Regions from separate parts of the Homo sapiens genome. Here region 1 is linked to region 2. The links are contacts of gene promoters, found by promoter capture Hi-C in human tissues and cell types (Jung and others, 2019). All regions are on one chromosome and are shown on one strand. The core of a region is centred on a gene start or on the middle of the fragment in contact, and the rest is flanking DNA. Distances in the headings are between cores, read along the strand shown.

The links. Contacts are between HindIII fragments. The study calls those that stand out against the background at their distance.
Region 1: a contact is called between the fragment with the promoter of ZBTB7A here and the fragment with the promoter of DPP9 in region 2, in 1 of the 25 tissues and cell types used here (pancreas).

What each region holds. Positions count from the first base shown.
Region 1 is chr19:4,065,261-4,069,109 of GRCh38, forward strand. ZBTB7A (zinc finger and BTB domain containing 7A) reads right to left here and starts at 1,639. Exons shown (of 3, transcript NM_015898.4): 1 at 1,422-1,639. RefSeq lists silencers at 170-939, 1,420-1,619, 1,630-1,679, 1,720-1,779, 1,990-2,099 and 2 more. The HindIII fragment of the contact is 23,363 bases long and covers 1-3,849 here.
Region 2 is chr19:4,721,839-4,725,411 of GRCh38, forward strand. It overlaps DPP9 (dipeptidyl peptidase 9), which reads right to left and starts at 2,004. Exons shown (of 22, transcript NM_139159.5): 1 at 1,836-2,004; 2 at 661-713. It overlaps TRG-TCC1-1 (tRNA-Gly (anticodon TCC) 1-1), which reads left to right and starts at 2,232; the gene lies at 2,232-2,303. It overlaps TRV-CAC3-1 (tRNA-Val (anticodon CAC) 3-1), which reads right to left and starts at 2,869; the gene lies at 2,797-2,869. It overlaps LOC105372250 (a long non-coding RNA gene), which reads left to right and starts at 1,042. Exons shown (of 3, transcript XR_936274.2): 1 at 1,042-1,148; 2 at 2,782-2,871; 3 at 3,297-3,573. RefSeq lists silencers at 1,805-1,954, 2,185-2,274, 2,725-2,924. The HindIII fragment of the contact is 28,361 bases long and covers 1-3,573 here.

The DNA.
Region 1 (3,849 bases), core at 389-2,888, 660 kb before region 2:
CCGGACGGCCGTCCGGGCAGGGCGAGGGGCCAGGCCAGGCCCCCCACCCGGGGCTGAGTCAGGCCCGGGCGGGGGCAGGAAGCGGCCCCCTCCCCCGCCCCGGCCGCAGCGCGCGGCCCCCGCCCGGCCCGCGGTCCCCCGCCGCCTCGCCCGCGCGGGGGGCTCCTACCTCCTTCCCGGGGCAGCGGCGAGGGGGCCCGGCCCCGGCGGCGGCGGTGGCGGCGGCTGCGGCTGGGCTGGCTCCCTCCGAGGGGCCGGGAGGCGGCAGTGAGCCTGGCCCCGCGCCACCCCCCGCCGCCGGCGGCCAATCCCCACCCGGGCTGGGGGGAGGGCGATGCAAATTACCCCGGATCTGGGTCCGCCCGCCCGCCTCCCCCACGCCCGGGCCCGGCCTGCGCTAGGCCGCGCATCCCCGGGCTCGCCTGCACCGCGCGGCCGCCCGGGCCGCCGCCCTCCCCGGGGAGCGCGGGGAGGGTGACCCCCCCCCCACGGGCGGGGGGCCGAGGGGAGGGGGGCTGGGGACGGTTACACAACCAGGCGGGGAGGGGCCCCGGGGCGGGGAGGGGGCCGGCCCGCGGGCCGCGCAGCCGGAAGCCGGGACCGCCACCGGCCCCCGGCGAGGGGAGCCCGGCTCCAGGCCCCGCCCCCTGGCGGGCTGGCCCCGCCCCCGCGCCGCGCCGCGCGATCGGCCCGCGCCCATTGGCTCTCCGGCCCGCCGCTCACCGCCCCTCCTCCGCACCGCCCCTACCCGCAGGCCGCGGCGGGCTGTCGGCGCGGGGCACCCTGGGACTTGTAGTCCAAGCCGCTTGCCACCTGCCGGCTGCAAACGGCGGAGGGACTACGAAGCCCAGAGGTCCCTGCGGCCCTGCCCGCCCACCCGGACACCCCACCCCTTCCCCCTCCTTTCCGAAGCCCCCCTCCCTGTTTTTTCAGCCCCCTCCCCCCCATCCCCCATGGAGCTCAATCCTGGCCAACTCCAACGTATGCACGCAGCACCGAATAGGCCCCCGGGGGGCGAGAGCGCCCCTCGTCTTCAGCTGGAAACTTAGCAGGCGACGCGCCCCCCTATCTCCCCACGCCGGCTCCCCCCACCCTCAATGCAGCCCTGCTTCCCCTCCCCCGCTCCCCGCGCGCCTGGGAGCCCCGAAAAGCCATGCACCCGGGTTGGGGGGGGCTGGCGCACAAGCTCATGCACTTAGCCCCCAATCCCCCCTTCCCGGGCGGCGCCCCCTCCCCGCGCTCGGGATCCAGGGCGCCTCCAGCCTCCGGGCAGCTGCCAACCACCCCTTCCTCTGAAACTTGGGGGAACGTCCCCGGCTCCCCGGATCTCCCCTTCCCGAGGGGGCAGCGGTGGCCGCAGCGACCCCCGCCCGTCCCCGCCCTGCACCCCGTGCCGGGGGCCGCGCCGGGCGCTGACTTACCTCGCGGGGCCGGGCCGGGGCGCGCGGGGCCGGGGCCCGAAGTTGGGACTGGGCTCCCTCGGCCGCTCGCCTCCGGGGTCCGCGGCGCTCGCTCTGCCCGCGTCGCGCTGCCCTGGTCGCTCCCTCGCGCGGCGGCGGCGGCGTCACTGCCCCTACAGTAACTGTACAGTACAGCCAAAGCCCCGTATGATGCTCGCGACTCCCTTCCTGGTTTCTCCGAGGGCAAGAGGGGTCCTCCCTTGTCTTAAAGGTGCCGCAGCCGCCGGCCCCCCCACGCCCAGCCCGCCCCCCCCAGCCTGGCCTCGGAGGCCAGAACAGGCTCGGCAGGTCCCCTCTTGCCACGTCTCTGCCCTCCCGTGGGGCTTCGCCCGCTGCGCCGGGGAGACCGGGCTGTTATTAGGTTTTGTCAAGTCGGGGGGGGGGGTCCGGCCCGCCCCGGCGCGCCCCCCCGCCTCTGACCTCTCCGCCCCGCCGCGCGGCGCCGTGCCAGCTTGCCAGCTTATCTGGCCCCAGAGCTCCCCGGGGCGCGGGGGGAGCGGGCCCCCCGGGGTGGAGGGGGGGTGGGGGCCTCCAGATAAACAGGCCCCCAGCCTCTGCGCAGGGGCGGGGTGCGGGGGGGCGCGGGCTGTGCCCCCGACGCCCGGGGCGTGGCAGGATGGCAGCGGGGGCGGGGAGCGCGGTGCGCACAGCGAGGAGCGACGCGGGCGTGTGGGTCGCGCGGCCTGGGCTGCCGGGGGTGGGTTGGGGGTGAGGCGGTGGGGATCCCCCCGCAAGGCCAGGCCCTGGGCCTCCCCGGGCCTCAGTGGGACTTGCCGCGCCAGGGACCCCGGGGGGTGGCCTTGCCAAGGACAGCCCGGGTCCGCGGGGCTCCCGGGTCCCTAAATGAAACCACCAACCTGCCCTCCCGCGATTATATAAAGGAGTCGCCTCCACCCCGCTGCGCTAGGGGCGTCAGCGGGGGAAGGGGTTGGCGAGGGGCGGGGAGGGCGGTTGTTTTCCCGGCTTCGCGAGTTCCCCCACCCGGCTGCGGGCCGCGGGGCGGGACGGGGACCGGGCCCTGGACGCCTGGTCCGCGCGGGCCGCTCCTTGGCACAAGGGGGTCTGCATGGCTCGCGAGGGGCGGAGGTGGGGAGTGGGGAGGCGTTGGTTCAGCGCGACTTTTTTTTTTCCCCTGTCCGTTTCTCCCACTTCCTCCCCGGTCGTGGGAGAGGTCCGGCGGGGGACAGGGAAGGGGGAGCAGGGCACGAGTGGTGAGAACGTCCTGGCCCGGCCCGGGGAGGGCTGGCTGGTGCGACCGCGCGCCTGGGGGGGGGGGGGAGGGCTCCAGGACTCAGTTTCCCCTTCCTCATTCCTCCAGACAGAGAGAGTACTGACAGCTGCTTTAGCTGCCGTTTAGTGAGCGCTTATCCAGTGGGTGACCCTGTTCCGGGGCTCACTGTGCCTTCATTCTAACACCTAATCCCAGGGTCATTATTATGTTTTATTATTATCTGGCATTCTTAGTACCAACACCACCTGACAGCGGGAACCACCACCGGCCTGGGTGTAGTGTACCCAGCCTGTCCTCTGACTTCAAAGCCTCTCCTGCGAGAGACACAGTTTATGGCTTCTTCGCACAATTTATTAAAAGCGCCTTTCAACACCCAAACGGGTTGGATTGGCTTTTGTAATAATAATCTGGCTACGAGGGGAAACCCGGGAGGGCCCCCCGGAGGGGAAGTGGACTGTCTCAGGACTCGCAGCCTGAAACCAGCCGGGTAGGTGGGAAGGGACCCAGGGAGGGGCCGCGTGGATCTAGGGCGAGGGTGTCATCCAGGGACTTTGCTCCAAGGACCCTGCCTGGGATAGAAATCCTTCTTCCTTCAACCACCGGCCATCAGCCTCGGGACCAGGAGGCCACGCTGAAGCACGATTCTTCCCAGATCCCACTGTTGTGTTTGGATTTCTGCAAATGATGCCCAGACGTTTTTTTTTGTTTTGTTTTTTTGTTTTTTGTTTTAGACAGACTTGCTCTGTCGCCCAGCCTGGAGTGCAATGGCACGATCTTGGCTTACTGCAATCTCCGCCTCCCGGGTTCAAGCGATTCCCCTGCCTCAGCCTCCTGAGTAGCTGGGATTACAGGCACCTGCCACCACGCCCGGCTAATTTTTTTTTTTTTTTTTGTATTTTTAGTAGATACAGAGTTTTGCCATGTTGGCAAGCCTGGTCTCAAACTCTTGACTTCAGGTGATCCAACCACCTTGGCCTCCCAAAGGGCTGGGATTACAGGCGTGAGCCACCGTGGCTGGCCTTGGTTTTTTTTGTTTGTTTGTTTTGTTTTTTGTTTTTTTAATAGAGATTTGGTGGGGCCGTGGGGGGGTCTTGCTATGTTTCCCAGGTCTCAAACTCCTGGGCTTCAGTGTTCCTCCCACCTGAGCCTCCCACAGTG
Region 2 (3,573 bases), core at 754-3,253:
AAGCATAAAGTCACCACGAAAAATCACTGGCCATACTCTCAGTCCAGTGGTGAAAAGCGTGGGCTCTGGTCTCAGAGAGAAAGGTTCAAATCCTGACTCTGCCACTTCTGGGGAAGTCGCTGAACCTCTCTGAGCTTCCACTTCCCCAGCGAGAACATGGTATGACAGTATCTACGCCTGGGGCCACCAAGGGAATTGAATGAGACTGCACACATACAGCTTTTAACACAGTGTCTGATGTAGCACAAACTAAATGACAGCTAGCATTGTCAACTAAACAAGATACTCAAAACCACAGGAAGGGGGAGACTCAAACTAAAGTCCTTTCAGGGCCAGAATCCACACCATTTACTGACCGGGTCAGGCAGTGTAGGTGGATCCAGGCACCCCTCCACCAAATCCTGCTGAAATCAGCACTCTCCCCTTCCTCTCCTCAAAGCCTTCAAAAAGCTCCTTCCAGGGGCAGCTAGAGGGGGACAGGGGTGGAAAGAAAAGCCTCCAGCAGGCGCACAAAAAACTGCAGCCACTGCCCTGCGGAGGACAACCATCCAGGGCCATAGAAAACCATTTCCTGCCCATGTCTATATTCTAGAGCAGGCAAAGGAATCCCACCAGCCCACACCCCAGCCTTCCTGGCTGCCAAACCCCAGCACAACTGACCTTCTAAAGGGTCCAGAGAGCCTCCATTCCAGCTGCAGGCGTGGGACACAGACCTTTATAGGATAAACATGTCATGAATGTGGCAGGTTAATGGAAGCACCGGCCAGCCGTTCAGCCTCCCCCACTCAGGAGCTGCAGACTGTCAGGCCCGATTCTACCTGGCTAGATTCTAGCTCTGCCTTGAAGCCCTGCAGCACTGTCTGCATGCCCTGGACAGAATCTGGGAGAGAAGCCATCCCACGGGCCCCGATTCCCCTGGGACCCAGCAGAGGAATGCAGGGATTGGTGCCTACGGTCCACACCCCCTGGGCTTTAGTCCCAGCTCCTCGAAAGCAGGTTGGTTCTTGCCTGGGAGGCAAGTGACTTCCTCCTGGGGCCCCTGGGGAAGACCAGGGGGTGGGGGCCAAGGGAATAGACCACTTTTGATGGCTCAGAGGCAGCGTGAACAGGGAAGTGTCAGGGCTGGCCTAAGGCTGTGTGGGAAGAAGGTAGGCGGTTGGACAGGCCTGAGAAGGGAGGCTGAGAGAAGGGGGCTGAACCCTGTGGGCTGGACCCTTGGAAGACAGCTATGCTAACCACTACACCACCAACGCCTCGGCAGGAAAAAGAGTCTCTGGATACCCTTAATAGAGGGATCAAGTAGGGTTGAGGATCAGGACTGGATTGGGGAGACCAAGCCTCGGGGCGAAGGTTGGAGGAAGTGGTAAAGGAGTGAGGACAGGATGCAGGTCGAGGGAGGTGGCCTCTGTGCATATACAGCATTTGCATGGGGAGAGGGAGGAGATCGGGACCTCCAGAGCCTGCACGAAAGGGGAGAGGGTGTCAAGGTCTGCAGCTACGAGGACGTTCTTGGGTGCGGCCACCTCCGGAAGGGGTCAGAGCCTGGTGGCCTGGGCAGCAACGGGATGGGTGGGGAAGCCCATCAGGGAAGGGGAGAAACTGGGAGGTGGCCTGGCCAGCGCAGGAATCGGGGAGGGAAAGAAGGTGGAGGAGGGCCTGGGGCGGAGAGGAAACGAGGCAGGGGGCCGGAGGGACCCACAGACGGGTGCATGGAGGCTCCGGGGTGCGGGGAGGCCAGGCGATGGCGAGGGCAGGGTCAGGGCCGAGGCGGGGCCGGTCAATGGCGGGTTCAGGGTCGCGGCCGGGGCGGGACGAGGCGCGCGGGCGCTGCTCACCGGGACGTGGGGCGGCGGCCGGACTGGGCAGGTCGTCCCGGGTCCAGCGGCGCCTCACGGTCGCGGCTCCATGCCCGGGACTGCGACCCCGGAAGTGGCGGGAGCGGGGGACGACAGCCGCGGCGGACACAGGGGACCCGCCGGCTCAGGCACCTTTGACCCGGAAGTTGAGCGACCCAGGCGGCGGCCTGGGATTGGACACCACCAGGCACGTACCAAGGCGTCCGCGGCGCTTGGGGGGGAGCCCGCGGCGCGGCGGCCTAAGGTGCGTAACGCCCCATGAACGACATCTTCCGGTGGGTTAGGGAGAGACACCCCCCTGTGACTTGGTATCACTCAGTCAAACCCATGATCCCCCACTATTAAGGATATCCGGAGAGGATGCTACCTATCAGGGCGTTGGTGGTATAGTGGTTAGCATAGCTGCCTTCCAAGCAGTTGACCCGGGTTCGATTCCCGGCCAACGCATGCGGTACCACTTTTGCGAGTTTGAAATTTTCATTTTAGTTTTGAGACGGAGTCTCGCTCGGTCCCCCAGGCTGGAGTGCAGTGGCGTGATCTCCGCTCACTGCAACCACCACCTCCCAGGTTCAAACGATTCTCCTGCCTCAGCCTCCCAAGTAGCTGTGATTACAAGCGCACGCCACCACGCCCATCTAATTTTTGTATTTTTAGTAGAGATGGGGTGGGGTGGGGCGGGGTGGGGCGGGGTGGGGGGGGGGGGGCGGTTCACCATTTTGGCCAGGCTGGTCTCGAACTCTGACTTCAGGTGATCCGCCCTCTTCGGCCTTTCAAAGTGCTGGGATTACAGGCGTGAGCCATCAATCACGGAAAATTTTTTTAAATCCCATAAAAATGTCTAAAAGGCAGGAGGAAGGCGGAAGAGAAAGAATGGGACTAGAATCGTTCTTTCGGTGAATTTCAAATAGTATTACTCTCCGGTTAGGAAAAACAGCTGACCTGTTTCCGCCCGGGATCGAACCGGGGACCTTTCGCGTGTGAGGCGAATGTGATAACCGCTACACTACGGAAACCGGTAGGCGTCAGGGTTCTTTAAATTCTCCTATAGAGATAATGTTGCAGTGATAGTTGCGTTGTCCCACCAAAGAAACACTGGCTACAGTCAGCTAAAGCAATATCCGCTCTTCCTGAATATCTGTTATTGTATTTGATACAGTAGAGACCGAAAGAAGGAAAATAAGGAAGACAAAAAGAAATCCAATAAACACCCTTTCCAACACACCCACCCACCCACACACATGTTTATCACTTTATCATAAATCCACCTTCCATTAAAACAATGCACGTCAAACGGCCCACAAACCCATCCGGGGTCAAATGAAGCTTTTCATCTCATAGATATCAATCTATACTTGATATCACATTAGTTTCTGCAGATATTCACCATTTTGCTTTAGATCAAACTACTTTTTTGTGTGTTTTGTTTTTTGTATTTTTTAGAGAGAGTCTCGTTCTGTCGCCTAGGCTCGAGTGCAGTGGTACGATCATCCCTCCCTGCAGCCTCCACCTCCTGGGCTCAAGCGATCCTCCCACCTCAGCCTCCTGGGTAGCTTGGACCACAGGTGTGGACCACCACGCCTGGCTGAATTTTAAAAAATGCGTTTGTAGAGACGGTGCCTTATAGCTGGGACTACAGGCGTGTGCAACCACTCCCAGCTAACTTTTGTATTTTTTGTAGAGACTAGAGGGCCTGCACTATGTTGCCCAGGCTGCTTTC